Linked DNA regions of Homo sapiens: region 2 is linked to region 1. Evidence: promoter capture Hi-C in human tissues and cell types (Jung and others, 2019). All regions are on one chromosome and are shown on one strand. The core of a region is centred on a gene start or on the middle of the fragment in contact, and the rest is flanking DNA. Distances in the headings are between cores, read along the strand shown. Region 1 holds the start of KIF14 (kinesin family member 14). Region 2 has its middle 29 kb from the start of INAVA.

Region 1 (7,937 bases), core at 1,963-4,462:
CCAAAGGCAGAGAGGAATTAAAGGTACCTTACATGTAACTGCTTGGCTTTAGATTTTAAAAGGCATCACATACCTCTTGGTGAAAGGTCTTACGCGTACTGCCACTGTCACTTGACTATTCTCTACTTTTAAGGGGTCTTTTCCTGCAGAGGTGTTCTGAACTACAGTTTCTTCTTCGGGAAGAATTGTATTTTCTGCGGATCTTTCCTGTTTATTTGCAAGAAAGGAACTTTTTGGTCTTTGTTTAACTTGAAGGTTAGACATTCTATTCTTCAGTATTGATGGAGCTGGGCTCTTAAGCTGAGGCAGGCTGCACTTTGTTGTCAGTTTGTGTTCTGTTGTACATTTTGTAGGTGTTCTTTTTTCTAAGCTCCCAAATTTATTTGAAGTTTTTGCAATTTCCTTCCCAATACTTCTATGATACAAGTTTCCTGTTCCCAACACTTTGATATCCAACTTGCTCTGAGTAGGTTTCGTTGTCAAGTGTCCTGATCTAACAACTTCAGTCTGACTCAGGGAAGCAATGGGTGGTCTATTACTTGAGTACTTAAGTGCAACATTTTCATTTGCTCTACTGGGGGCAGAAAATGTTTCTTTGTATTTCTTATCAGCCATCATTTCAATGACCTGTGGATCTTCATCTAAAGGTACAGAAGAGGCAACAAAAGAGTTTTTAGCATTATTTACAATCCTTACATTTGTTCTACTTTCCTTAGAAACACCATTATTTTCTGTTTCACCTCCCACATTCAGTGTCATTTTGACAGAATCTATTTCAGCTGTTTTCCACTTTTCTGCAGAATCTGTTTTAGCACGACGTTGTAATGTAAGACGTGTTTCTGCTGTTTTTTCAGTTGTGTCTTCCAACTCACTAACAAGCAAAGATGATTCTTTGTTCCTTGTAGTTCTCCTCTGAAGTGCCAATCTACCTACAGGATTAGGGGTAAGGGGCATGTCTGCTGTTTTTCTACTGGCAGAAATAACATAAGTTCTATTTATGTCTCTGACTTTACCTGCAGATCTCAATAATGGATCATCATTTTCACATTCTGACATATCCGACTTCAAATGCAGCTTAAGTCGGCTACTGTGGGTGAGGGCATTCAGTGATGAACTATTTTGGGAAGAAGGAATATCAAGAATATCACCGCTGTTATTTCTATTATGAGTACTGTGTAATGACATTTTGGCAGACAGTTATTTTAAAAAAGAATGTTACTAAGACCCTAAGCTCTTCTTTGGACATTCATTTGATTTCCAGCCATTTCTTATGTATCCATTTCTGAAAGTATCTGCTAAACTAAAAGAAAAAAAAAAGATTTAGATCACACAGACTACAAACAAGCTTTAAAAATATAGAGAGAACATCCCATTGTGTAAGTAAATTCCCAGAGGCATACATTACAATAGATCACAATCTGCAGCTCAGATACTGCTTCCAAGCAACTTCAGGCAAGTCTCTCAGAGAACTTACCATCATTATTCAACAAATATTGACTAAGTTTCCATTAGTGCCAGGCCCTCTGATAGATACTGTAGACTTCAAAGACAAGAATACAATTCCCATTTCTTTAGTCTAGAAGAAATATACTGATAAGCCATATATCAGGCCAAATGTGTCAAGTGACTTAGAAGATGTAAAAAGTGCATGCCAACATAGATTTTCAAGTACTTCCAGTGTGGGGAATGGGAAGGACTAAAGGAAACCCTAGCACCTAAATCAGAGTGTGGAGCAAAGTATTTTTATAAATACCTGCTACACGTATTTTTTTTTTTTGCCAATGTTCCATAAGAAGGTTTATTTTATTTTATTTTTATAAAAATATTTTTTTTGAGATGGAGTCTTGCTCTGTCACCAGGCTGGAGTGCAGTGGCACGACCTTGGCTTGCTGCAACCTCCTCCTCCTGTATTCAAGCAAATCTCCTGCCTTAGCCTCCCAAGTAGCTGGGACTACAGGCGCCCACCACCATGCCCAGCTAATTTTTGTATTTTTAGTAGAGACGGGGTTTCACCATGTTGGCCAGGATGGTCTCGATATCTTGACCTTGTGATCCGCCCGCCTCGGCCTCCCAAAGTGCTGGGATTACAGGCGTGAGCCACCGCGTCCGGCCCATGTATGTTGAATACAGGAATGCCTATAGAGAAGATTGAATTGATTGGTGTCACGAGGCAGATTATTCCCAAGTACCACAGGCAGTAAGTACGATAAGTACTGTAAATTAATTGTGTTGAGAAAAACCATGCAAGATTAGATAAACAGACAACCTGCCCTTTAGCAGTAAGACAACAAATTAGACAGAGGTGTATGTAAATATACAGCAACAATATCTATCAGGTATTAACGTTTTAAAGAAAGGGAACAGCAGTGACAGCTAAGAGACCTGGCTTTTAGTCAGCTTTGTATCCAACTCCTTACAAGGATGTAAACAAGACTTTAAATTTGCATGCCGGGTTCTAACCTGTAAAATGACACTGGTTCAAACTATTGCAAAGATTATTGCTAGCGAGGAACAAATTAATGGAAGTTCATTTTTAAATGAGGCTTTTAAATTTTTACATAAATAACAGTCATTACAAAAAAAATTCGTCAGCTTATAAGCATCTCCCATCAACGTTTCAACTCAAAATACAGAATTTTCCTGTTATGAAATGAATTTAAAGGCAAAAAGAAGATTCTGGAAATTCTCTTGCAACTAAAAACCATTTGCGATTTGCACAAATCAATACGGTTTCTGTTTGAGGAGTTTCGCCATCAGATTTTAAAGAGGACTGGAAGGAATACAAGGAAAATAAGCACAATCCAAACCAAAACATCCGGTGATTCTGTTCTTTCTCTGCTAGTCATTACCAGGGGCTATGACTAAGAATTACCTCTTAATGCCAACCGACTCGGGGAGACTCGGGGAGAAGCCCACGGGCCGAGAGGCCCTGAAGTCCGGCTTCCCGGTCCCAGCAGAGACGCTGCCTTGCGCCCTTCGTTCGGGGACCCCTTCGCCGCCGACCTGGAATGCTGAGGAACTGAATGGGGGACTGGAGCTAAGACCACCCGCCCGCAGAGCAGTGGTCGCCTGTAGGGAAAGCGTCCGCACGCCCTCCCCAGTGCCGAAACTTCGCCCCTCCGCAGGGTCCGGCACCTTGGGGACCCCCTCGACACAGTCCCCACGCCACTCACCACCTCCAGCGCCGGCTCCCCAGAAGGCCGCAATTTGAATGGGCGCCCCGCCTTCTGATTGGCTGCTGGGCGTCGCGTCGGGTGCCGCGCCTTTGCTTCCACCCGCCCCCCGGAAGTGCCGGTGGTTGGGCTCCGGTAGCCGTCTCTGAATGCTGGACTCGCCCCACCCTCATCTCCCAGGCAACGCTCCCTCCCCTCCTCGGGTTCTGCTAAAGCGTGGAGCTTGGCCCCCTTTAAATCCGACCAGAGGAAGGGGCGGCGGTCGCGGGCGCAGCGGGCCCCTCGTTGAAGTGGGTGTCAAACGAAAAGCATGACAGTGACACTCTTGTCGGTCTTTAATCTAAAAGAAGCCATTACATCGAAGACTTCACATTGTAAATGGATATTTGCCCCCAAGTTAATCATAATAATTAACTTTTCTAGTGTTTCCTATGCAAGGCGTTCACGTAGGAAATATGCTAAATGTCTTATATGAATTTTTAAACAGTCCTGAAAATCTTGTGAGATAAATATTAATGTTATCCCTCGTTTACAGATGAGGAACTGAGGTTTAGAGTTAAACTTGTGAAAGATCAGACAATTAGCAGTGGCATAACTAGAACTTGAAGGTTCTTGCCGCCGTACAATGTAACTCCGTTTCAGTAAAAGTTCCCTTTTTTTAATTTTTTTTTTCTTTTTTGAGACGGAGTCTCGCTCTGCAGCCCAGGCTGGAGTGCAGTGGCCCCTGCAACCTCCGCCTCCCTGGTTCAAGCGATTCTCCTGCCTCAGCCTCTGGAGTAGCTGGGATTACAGGCGCGCACCACCACGCCCAGCTAATTTTTGTATTTTTAGTAGAGACGGGGTTTCACCATATTGGCCAGGCTGGTCTCGAATTCCTGACCTTGTAAGCTGCCAGGCGTGAGCCACTGCGCCGCCCAGCCCCCATAAGATTTTGAAATCTGAAAAAATATTACAAATACATTCTGAAAAATAACCAAATAAATGAGAAAGACTAGATAAATAGATATTGTAAAGCAACAATGTTTTTTAAACAGGCAAAAAGTACAGAGATATTGAAGAAGTATTCACTGAGATAGAGACCATAAGTAGCTCCAATTATATAGACCAACCAAACAGATGATAAAGTACTCATTCTAAATCTTACTCTAAAAATCATTCTAAAACTCAATTAAAATTAAGGTATAAGGAAACTATCAGAAAATAGAATATAATATTTATCAGGGCCAGGTGCGGTGGCTCACGCCTGTAATCTTAGCACTTTGGGAGACCAAGGCAGGCGGATCACTTGCAGTCAGGAGTTTAAAACCAGCCTGGCTAACATGGTGAAACCCCGTCTCTCCTAAAAATACAAAAATTAGGCAGCCGTGGTGGCGGGCCCCTGTAATCCCCGTTACTCAGGAGGCTGAGGCAGGAGAATCACGTGAACCGGGTAGGCGGAGGTTGCAGTGAGCCGAGATCGCGCCATTGCACTCCAGCCTGGGGGACAAGAGAGAAACTCCGTCTCAAGAAAAAAAAAAAAAAAAGTTATCACATCTATGGGAAAATGATCATTCAATTTAGAAACAAAGCAAGATATGTCAAAGAAAAGACAGACAAACTCAAATACATAAAAATTTTAAACATATGTATAATTCAAAATAATAAAAATAAAATGTAACTGGAAATATATATTAAACATGACAGAAGACATAAAGACCTTTTTCAATTTTAAAAGGAAAATAAGCTCATAAATAGAATAAAGCAAGTATTTTTTTAAATCCACCAGAGGGAGACAAACAGAAAGAAAACGTGGAAAGAGTCGAAGTAAAACTGGCACGTTTGAAGCTTTCTGGATTATGTAAGATTTAAAGAAAAATGATTAACTCATGCTAATTAATGATCTCTTAAGATTAAATTTTTTTTTTTTGAGACGGAGTTTCGCTCTAGTTGCCCAGGCTGGAGTGCAATGGCTTGATCTTGGCTCACCGCAACGTCCGTCTCCCAGGTTCAAGCGATTCTCCTGCCTCAGCCTCCCGAGTAGATGGGATTACAGGCGTGCACCACAACCCCAGCTAATTTTGTATTTTTAGTAGAGAAGGGGTTTCTCCATGTTGGTCAAGCTGGTCTCGAACTCTCGACCTTAGGTGATCCACCTACCTCAGCCCCCCAAAGTGCTGGGATTACAGGCGTGAGCCACTGCGCCCGGCCTAAGATTAAATCTATTACAATTTAGCAAATTTCACAATTTTTAAATTATTAAAATGTGGTATGTATTTTCCTGGTGTTTGTATCTAGTTGCACTTGGGGTCTATAACGAAAAGGTGCAATAGGAAATTAATAATTTTAAAATGCAAAGGACAAAGCAAAAGTTGTGGAAAAGTGGTAAGAGCACTTTGGATTCTAGCTGAGGATCTGTCTCAACCTAATGGTGAGACCAGAGATAAGTCTCCTTACTGTAGATCCCTCGCTTGTGAAACGAAAGTGCTGGATTAAATCATCATAACCAGCAAGGATTGAGTCCTTTCTTTGTGCAAGATAAATAACCTAACTCCATAACCTTATAAGATAGGTATTATGATTATCGCTGTTTTACACATGAGGGAAAGTGGGTTTCCAAGGAGTTAAATAGCTTGCCTGACATTATACAACTACTGGGTCACAGAGTTAGGTTCAGAACTCAGGAAATTAAACACCATTTCCTGTGCTCTGTACCACTACCCTGTACAACAGTTTTTACAGATTCTTTCTGGATCTCAAATGTCTATGGCTTTATAATAAGGACAAGAGTTAAACAAACTGCATGAACCTAAAGGTATTTTAAAATCTGTCATATTTTGTATTTTCCTTCTAATTTTCTTTTTTTTATTTTTATTATTATTATTATTATTATTTTGAGACGGAGTCTTGCTCTGTCGCCCAGGCTAGAGTGCAGTGGCGCCATCTTGGCTCACAGCAAGCTCTGCCTCCCGGGTTCACGCCATTCTCCTGCCTCAGCCTCCTGAGCAGCTGGGACTATAGGCATGCGCCACCACGCCTGGCTAATTTTTTGTATTTTTAGTAGAGACAGGGTTTCACCATGTTAGCCAGGATGATCTCGATCTCCTGACCTCGTGATCCACCCGCCTCGGCCTCCCAAAGTGTTGGGATTACAGGCGTGAGCCACCGCGCCCGGCCCTAATTTTCTTTTTCTTTCTTTTCTTTTTTCTTTTTTTTTTTTTTTTTTTGAGACAGGGTCTCAATCTGTTGTCCAGGCTGGAGGGCAGTGTCATGACCATGGCTCACAGCAGCCTCAACTTCCCTGGGCTCAGGTGATTCCCCCGGCTCAGGTGATTCCCCTCACCTCAGCCTCCAGAGTAGCTGGGACTACAGGTGCATGCCACCACGCCCAGTTAATTTTTGCATTTTTTTGTGGTGACGGGATTTCACCATGTTGCCCAGGCTGGTCTCTAACTCCTGAGCTCAAGCGATCCACCTGCCTTGGCTTCCCAAAGCTTTGGGATTACCGGCGGGAGCCCCTGTGCCTGGGCTCCTTCTGCTTTCTAATACATGTTAGACCAAGAGTCTTGGAAGTATCCACTATAATATGCTTACATTTTTTTTTATCAGGTCTTGTTGATGAATCTTTATGAATTCAGTTGTTGTCACTTGGTGAAAAAATCTAAATACATTCAGCAATACTGCCAATAATTTTAAAAGAACAATTATGCAAGTAATCCCTATTATTATTATTATTATTATCATTAATATTATTTTGAGACAGAGTTTCACTCTTGTTGCCCAGGCTGGAGTGCAGTGGTGCGATCTTGGCTCTGCCTCCCGAGTTCAAGCAATTCTCCTGCCGCAGCCTCCTGAGTAGCTGGGATTACAGGCATGCGCCACCACGCCTGGCTAATTTTGTATTTTTAGTAGAGACAGGGTTTCTCCATGTTGGTTAGGCTGGTCTCGAACTCAGGTGATCCACTCCCCTCGGCCTCCCAAAGTGCTGGGATTACAGGCGTGAGCCACCACACCCAGCCTAGTAATCCTTTTTAATATATAAAGAAAAGAACTCAGGGATTAGAAAATATTATAGACTCTCTTTTTCTCTTTGAGTCATGCTGGTTTCATTCCAGGGAAGATTAGCAAGATTTAAAAACCATTGTCAGCCCCAAAGCCTAGTGAGTATCCTATTTTTACATAAAGGAAGCTTGGGTCTTACATAAAGTTTCATTTAGGAAGAACAATTTTTTTTAAGGCCTAGTTTGACCTTCAATTGGTTGTCTTCTTCCCATTGTGCTTTGCCAACATAGCCCAAGGTCATTCTGACATCCTGTTGAAAATGCTGGGGATTCCTCCAAGTAGACTTGTAGGTATTTTCCTAAAATGGATAATGAAAAGCTTCAAGTCACTTACTTTTCAACAAATTTACAGAGAGGTATTAGGTGATCTCAATAAGAATGTTGAGTATGTACAAATCACTCAGCTGTCTGTACTAACCCCAAAATAGTTCATAATCTCATTTCTTTTCGGTGGTACATGTCAATACTAGCAGTGTCTAGGCTGCCTAGAATTGCCTAGAATGACACATGTTTAGTTGTTTTTATAATCAATTTTTAGTTTGTGTATTCACATAAATCAATTTTCTAATTTAAAAAACAGCATAAAAAAGATTGTGTCAAGTAATTGCTTCTCATGTTCGTGGGTATAAAAGGGCAACTGTCAAGTAAGAAGCCACCTGGATTGCAAGAATTATACATCATCTCAGTCTTTCTAGAGGGGAGAGAGGGGAGTTTTTCTTCAGTGTTG
Region 2 (7,937 bases), core at 2,681-5,180, 300 kb after region 1:
TTGGGTGATCCACCCACCTCGGCCTCCCAAAGTGCTGGGATTACAGGCATGAGCCACTGCACCCGGCTGAAAATCTCTTATCTAATCCCCACATGATGGCCTTTCCACTTTGGCTTCCATTGGCCTAGAGAAGCTGGTTCTGGGGACCCTGGTAGCTTCTGGGCCTTCTTGGTGGGCAGGAAGGGAGGGGGAGGATGACTCTGGCTTCCTGTTCCATCTGGTGGAATCAGCTAAACTCCCCCAACTACATCCCTTTTCAGGATTGCGCCAATCAGAAAGAGAAGCCTATGAGTTCATAGTGGACTTTCTAGAAGAAGAACATATGGTAAGAAAGTTCTCTGGACCTTTGTGTGAACTGAGGCGGAAAGTAGAAAAAAATAAGAGGGCTTATGCCTCCTTGGGTTTTGAGTACCAGCCCTGGCTTGGAAGCCACCAGATACTCAGCCCATTGTTGCCTCGTGACTGGGCAGATCTTTGGTGGCTAGGCCACTGGACAGGGTGTCTAGGGCTTAGATCTTGCAGTTCCCTTCCTGTAGGAAGGATCTTTGTCAGAGATCCTTAGCCCCACTGTCCTCCAGAGCCCTACACAGGTGGCCAGACATTGGTGAGCAGCAGTCCTGGGGACAGGGACATTGCACTGAGAAAATCAAGTGAGCAATCCATCCTTTGGCCTAGTTGATGGGAATCTGGGCTGGGTGTGAGGAGCAGGGGTGGGGTGTAGGTCTCAGGTGCTGCCTGTGGGCAGAGCCTAAGGGCTGAAGCCCAGCTTATGGGCAGCAATCTGTGTATTGTGTCCTAGTCTGAGTTCACCAAGCTGAAGTTCCTGAGAGCTGTGGAAACCTTGAGTAGTGCTGTGCATGGCCAAGCAGACGGCAATATGGACGATTACTATCCCAAAGCCATCCTGGCCAAGAAAATTGAGGTGAGAAAGACCCAAGCTCTTCTGGGAGTTGGTCATTCAGGGATGAGGATGACAAGTCCCGGACCTGAGGGCTGGCATCTCTCTCTGAGGGGGGTTCTTGTTTTTTTTGTTGTTGTTGTTTGTTTGTTTCCTGGCCTTTCTAGATACTAATTCTTGAAGAATCCACTGAGATTTTGATGGGCAACATGCGTCAGCAAGCCATGCTCTGCATCGTGGCGCTGAGGTGCCTTTCCTGCTCTTACCCCCTCAGAGCGCCTGGGTCTCTTGTGCTCAGAACATTTGGGTTGGGAGGAAGGGCAAGGTTTGGGGACTTAAATTTTGGCCTGTGGGTGGCATAGCCCCCGTGTCTGCCACTTTATCTGCCTGCATCCTTGGGTGGAGGGGGTGTTCTCCAATTGTACTTTTGGAAGCCTATTAAGACGTCCAGTGAGGGAAGCTTCCCTAGCAACCCAGGCCCTCCTTCCCTGGAGGAGAGGCTATTAGAAAGTGTTTGGGGGCTCAGATCCCCACTGTTTCCTGCATCTCAGAAACAGCAGCAGAGCACATTCTCCCAGAGGGTCCCAGTCTCTCCCAGGGACCCCAAAGCCGCTTGTCATTCCCTGCCTCTCCCTGCAGTCAGGTGAATCCACCATTCCACTTGTCCCAGAAACTGGATCTGGTAAATGTGGGCGTCTCCAGCCTGTTCTCTCTGCCGCCTATCGTGCCCAGCCTGTACCGAAGAGACAATGCGAGTCTCTACCTCCAGGTAATCCCCACCTCTTCATGGAGAGCTCCACGGGGAGGTTTTGTCTTTGGAGTCACCTCTTGCCCTTTAACTCTCCCTCCTTTCTCCTGCTCTGACCTCTCTGCAGAGCTCTTGGCCCCATGTTCCTGGGGCTGCTAAGAAGCACTCCAGCTGTCGTACCCTCACCTGTCTTTCCAGGGATTGGCCCATGCTCCCACCCTATCCATGTCCTTGTTCACTAAGGCTCACAGCAGCCTCAGTCACGGGAGGAGACAGTCTGATAATAAAACCCACAGATACTGTGGAGCAACTGACCAGTAGACTGCCAAATCTTCCCAGGGGCCTCTAATTTTTTATTTCATTTTTAATTTTTAAATTTTGAGACGGGGTCTCACTCTGTTGCCCAGGCTGGAGTATAGTGGTGCAATCATAGCTCACTGCAGCCTCAACCTCCGGGGCTCAAGCTATCTTCCCACCTCAGCCTTTGTAGTTTTAAAAATAGATGTGTCCTGGACCTAGCGGAATGAATCTAATGCGGAGAGTCCCACGGGATCTGGCTTTCTTGGGGAGAATGGCCCAATGCCTACATTTCACCAATGGGCTCACAATTTGGGCTGGACCTGGTCCAGTCTTCATTGAGACCAAGAAAAGTCAGCACCAAGGAAGATCAGAGTGTGGCTGGCCATGAGAGAGAGACTGCCGGGGGTGGCAGAGCCAGGCTGGCCCCACTTCCTTCCTCCAGAGGTAGGGGACAAGGAGATGGAGTGCCCCCAGGGAGCCGAGCTGGCACTGTGGCAGTCTGTTCTGGACACTCCCTGTCTCTTCACTTGTCAGAGGGTCCAGGCCTTAGACAACATGTTGCAGGCTCTTGTGATGGACAGGATGAACCCTAACATGCTCATACTACAAAACTTCCTGGAGGTAAGTGGCTGTGGAAATCAAGGAAACTGAAAGTCCATATTAATTCTAGTATGTTTGGGAGGAAAGGAAAAGAATATCAGGATAGCCTAGGTGTCATTCTAGTCCAAAGACCATCGGTTCTCAAGCCTCAGCATGCATAAACATCACTTGAAGACAAATTTCTGTATCTCCCACGAAATACCATTTTGAGGATCACAGTTTTGGAAACATAGCCCACTAAGCTGAGGACCCATTTCTGCCCAGGACTTGGACATATTGGGGCTTCGATGGTAATAACATTTATATCTGTGCCAGACTTTAATCTTCAAAGTATTTTCCCCTTTTGCAGCATCTGCCATTGCTCTGTGATAAAGAAGACCTCAGTGCTTAACCACAGGCTACTCTTATATCCCTTAATGTAATCCCCACCAGAGACTCATTGTACTTCTTTAACTGTCTTTAGAGCTTCAGAGCGTTTCAAATATTCTTAGTTATGACAAATTGTTATCTCCTGAGGGTAGTTGAGTTGGGGAAACAGCCAAGAATCACTTGAAACCGACTTTCATGAACACGATGGTAATCAATTACGGTAATAAAATTTTGCATAAAGCATTAGGTGTGACTACAAAGAAGGAGACAAGATTGCCCAGGCATCTTATAAAAAGACCTTGACAAGGCCAGGTGCAGTGGCTCACGCCTGTAATCCCAGCACTTTGGGAGGCCGAGGCGGGTGGATCACTTGAGGTCAGGTGTTTGTGACCAGCCTGGCCAACATGGTGAAACCCCGTCTCTACTAAAAATACAAAAAAATTAGCTGGGCGTGGTGGTGGGCACCTGTAATCCCAGCTACTCGGGAGGCTGAGGCAGGAGAATCTCTTGAACCCAGGAAGAGGAGGTTGCAGTGAGCTGAGATCAGGCCATTGCACTCCAGCCTGGGCAACAAGAGTGAAACTCCGTCTCAAAAAAAACCCCCCAAAAACCCAAAAAGACCTTGACAAGGGCTTTAGCTAGAGGGAAATTTGTCCACATTTGGATGAGTGACATAGTTCTTTTGGAATGTATCATCTCTGGTATGTTTGTTGAGAAGGATTTTTGTGCTTTTTAGGCAACCTTGCTATAAATGTAAGAACAAATGTTCTGTTGTTCTTGGAGTCTGTGGGGGAACAGAGATGCAAAACTTTGGTCCTGGTCAGGGTACAGTCTTCAAGAGATCCATTACTGGGGTTCTCATTATCCAAAGATAAATGATGCCCTGCAAAATTACCACCTGAAACAGGTTCCAACATTTTGTATAAAATAGTGGAGGAATCAATTTATCTTGATAAATAAAATTAAAAGTATAAAAATAAGTTATTTTTATGCGAACAAAATGTATTTTTGCTACTTTGAGGTAATTCTCAGTCAAGTGTGTATATATTTTAGACATATTTTTCCTACAAAATGACATGATAGCATAATACAACATCATTTATTTCACATTTGACTTTGCAGAGCTGGATCAGAAAGGTCGAATTTGAGGGCTATATGGTTTTCTTAAGGGCCCTCCTTTTTCTTTTGTCTTCTTTTTTTCCGTTTTAAAATTAAGGTATAATTTACATATAGTATAATTCAGCTTTTAGTGTGTAGATCTGTGGGTTTTGACAAATGCATGCAGTCCTGTAACTACAGCCACAATTAAGCTATAGAACAGTTCTATCACCCCCCCAATTCCCCCATGACTCTATGGTCAACCCCTTCCCCATTCCCCATCCCTGGCAATGGCTGATTTGTTTCCTGTCCCTATAGTTTTGCCTTTTCTAAAATGTCATCTAGGTGCAGTGGTTCATGCCTATAGTCCCAGCACTTCAGGAGGGCGAGGTAGGGGGATCACCTAAGCCAAGGAGTTTGAGACCAGCCTGGGCAACATATGAGACCCCATCTCTACTAAAAATAAAAGAAATATATTAGCTGGGCATGTGGTGTGTGCCTGTTGTCTCAGCTACTTGGGAGGCTGTGGTGAGGGGATCGCCTGAAGCCTAGAGGTTGAGGCTGCAGTGAGCTGTGATCATGCTACCGCACTCCAGACTGGGCAACAAAGCTAGACCCTGTCTCGAAAATAATTAATTCATTAATTAAGATAATTAAAAATGTTATCTAAGGCTGAGTACTCCAGCCTGGGGAACAAAGTGAGACCCTATCTCAAAACTAAATAAATAAAATAATTAAAATGTTATCTAAGGCTGAGTACAGTGGCTCATGCCTGTAATTCCAGCACTTTGGGAGGATCACTTGAGCCCAGGAGATCAAGACCAGCCTGGGCAACAGTGAGACCCCCATCTCTACAAATAATAAAAAAATTATCCAGGCGTGGTGGTATGTACCTGTGGTCCCAGCTACTTGGGAGGCTGAGGTGGGAAGATCACCTGAGCCCAGGAGGTCGAGGCTGCAGTAAGCTGTGACAGTGCCACTGCACTCCAGCCTGGGCAATATACAGGGAGACCTTGTCTCAAAAAAAAAAAAAAAAAAAAAAAAAAAGACATCTAAGTAGAATTATCCAGTAGGCAGTCTCTGGAGTCTGTCTTCTTTCATTTAGCATAATGCATTTGAGATTTATTCATGTTGTTATGTGTATCAGTATTTTGTTTCTTTTTATTTTTTAATTGAGTAGATGGATCACAGTTTGTGCATTAATTTTCCAGTTGAGGAACTTTGGGGTTGTTTCCAGACTGGGATGATTACAAATGAATCTTCTATAAATCTTTGTGTGCAGGCTTTTGTATGAACATAGGTTTGTATTTCACTTGAGTAAATTTCTTGGAGTGGGACTGCTGTGTTTTATGGCATGTGGATGTTTCACTTTATAAGATACTTCCCAGCCCAGCGTGGTGGCTCACGCCTGTAATCCCAGCCCTTGGGGAGGCCGAGGAGGGTGGATCACCTGAGGTTGGGAGTTTGAGACCAGCCTGACCAACATGAAGAAACCCCATCTCTACTGAAAATACAAAATTAGCCGGGCGTGGTGGCACATGCCTGTAATCCCAGCTATTTGGGAGGCTGAGGCAGGAGAATCGCTGGAACCTAGGAGGCGGAGATTGCTGTGAGCCGAGATTGCGCCATTGCACCTTAGCCTGGGCAACAAGAGCAAAACTCCCTCTCAAAAAAAAAAAAGGAGGGGGGATACTTCCAAAGTGTTTTCCCAAGTGGCCATTTTCCACTTCCACTAGCAATGTGTAAGAGTCCCAGTTGCTCTGCATCCCTGCCAGCATGTGGTATTGCTAGTGTTTCCTTTTAGTCATTCTTATAGATGTGTAGTGGTATCTCTTTGTGGTTTTAACTTGCGTTTCCTAGTGACTAATGTTGGGCACGTTTTCATAGTCTTATTTGCCATCTACATATCTGCTTTGATGAAGCGTCTATTTAAATCTTTTGCCCATTTTTTTATTGGGTTGTTTTCTTATTTGGGGGTTTGAGGGTTATTTTATTTTATTTTATTTTATTTTATTTTATTTTATTTTATTTTATTTTATTTTATTTGAGATAGAATCTCACTCTGTTGCCCAGGCTGGAGAGCAGTGACACCATCACTACTCACTGCAGCCTCGAACCTCCCCGAGAGACCTTCCCACCTCAGGCTCCTGAGTAGCTAGGACCATAGGTGTGCGCCACCATGCTCCACTAATTTTTGAATGTTATGGGCCAGGCACAGTGGCTCATGCCTGCAGTCCCAGCACTTTGAGAGGCTGAGGCGGGTGGATCACTTGAGGTCAGGAGTTCAAGATCAGCCTGGCCAATGTGGCAGAACCCCATCTCTACTAAAAATACAAAACTTAGCCAGGTGTGGTGGCATATGCCTGTAATCCCAGCTACTGAGGTGGCTGAGGCAGGATAATCTCTTGAACCTGGGGGGAGAAGGTTGCGGTGAGCCAAGATCATGCCACTGCACTCCAGCCTGGGCGACAGAGCGAGAATCCGTCTCAAAAAAAAAAAAAAGAAAAAGTTTATGTAGAGCTATGGTCTCCCTATGTTGCCCATACTGGTCTCGAGCTCCAGGGTGCAAGCAATCCTCCTGCCTTGGCCTCCCAAAGTGCTGGTATTACAAGTGTGTGAGCCACCACGCCCAGCCTTGAGAGCTCTTTGTATATTCTGGATATAAATATTTTGTCAGATATGTGATTTGCAGACATTTTCTCCCATTTTGTGGCCTGATTTTATACAGTGTCTTTTTTTTTTTTTTTTTTTTTTTTGAGACGGAGTCTCACTCTGTCGCCCAGGCTGGAGTGCAGTGGCATGATCTCAGCTCACTAAACCTCTGCCTCCCCGGTTCAAGCAATTCTCCTGCCTCAGCTTCCTGAATAACAGGGATTACAGGCATGTGCCACCACACCCAGCTAATTTTCGTATTTTTAGCAGAGACAGGATTTCACCATATTGGCTGGGCATTCATTGAATGCCCACATCGTGTTGAACTCCTAACCTCAGGTGACGCACCCACCTCAGCCGCCGAAAGTGTTGGGATTACAGGCGTGAGCCACTGCACCCAGCCCTGGCCACTCTTAACAGTATCTTTTGAAGAGCAGGTAGTTATTCATTTTGATGAAGTCCAAGTCATTATTTTTTTTTATGGTTATAGGAATTTTTGCCTCCCTTAAGTATTTTCTCATTTTCTTCTAGAATCTTATCATTCTAGATTTTAAGTCTGTGGTCAATTCTGAATTAACTTGTGTATTGGACGGTCAGGTACACGTTGTAGTTCATTTTTCTTTTTTTGGCACATGGATGTCCATGATGGGGTTCAATGCTCTGGGAGAAAGGCTACCCTGAAGGACACCTGTCCAGCAGCTATGATACGGGACACACTTTCCCAAAAGTTTGTAGCAAGCAGGACACAGGCCTGTCTTCCCTGGTGGGATCTCAACCTAGTGTGGTAATAATAACACTTACAGGGAAGTGTTGTTATGGGAGGATAGAGTGCATTATTCTATTCAGAATACTTACCTGTGTCACTATGATTATTAACCTCCAGAAATGAATGGCTCTGAATCTCATCCTTCAGAGACCACTTTACCCCTTCCCCTGGCCTAGCAGGTAGGGGTTTGCATGGATATGCCACCAAGAGAGCCCTGTCTCCCCATCTTATCCCATTCCTGCTTACCCACTGCTTTGTAATTCTACATCTAAGGCACAGCACTGTCTTTAAACATTCCTGTCAGAAGAGACCCAGAAGGTAGCAGGTGAAGCCCCGGAGACTTTTTTTTTTGAGACAGAATCTCACTCTGTTGCCCAGGCTGGAGCGCAGTAGTGCGATCTCAGCTCACCGCAACCTCCGCCTCCCAGGTTCAAGCCATTCTGCTGCCTCAGTCTCCCGAGTAGCTGGGACCACAGGCATGTACCACCACACCCAGCTAATTTTTT

What was found. Contacts are between HindIII fragments. The study calls those that stand out against the background at their distance.
Region 2: a fragment that was not itself captured here is called in contact with the fragment with the promoter of KIF14 in region 1 in 1 of the 25 tissues and cell types used here (lymphoblastoid cells).

The regions. Positions count from the first base shown.
Region 1 is chr1:200,617,539-200,625,475 of GRCh38, forward strand. It overlaps KIF14 (kinesin family member 14), which reads right to left and starts at 3,213. Exons shown (of 30, transcript NM_014875.3): 1 at 2,873-3,213; 2 at 74-1,300. The coding sequence starts at 1,185. RefSeq lists an enhancer at 2,481-2,982 and a silencer at 3,151-3,300. The HindIII fragment of the contact is 6,770 bases long and covers 1-5,820 here.
Region 2 is chr1:200,920,195-200,928,131 of GRCh38, forward strand. No RefSeq gene overlaps it. Among named protein-coding and RNA genes, the nearest start is that of INAVA, 29 kb to the left of the region's middle. The HindIII fragment of the contact is 7,391 bases long and covers 236-7,626 here.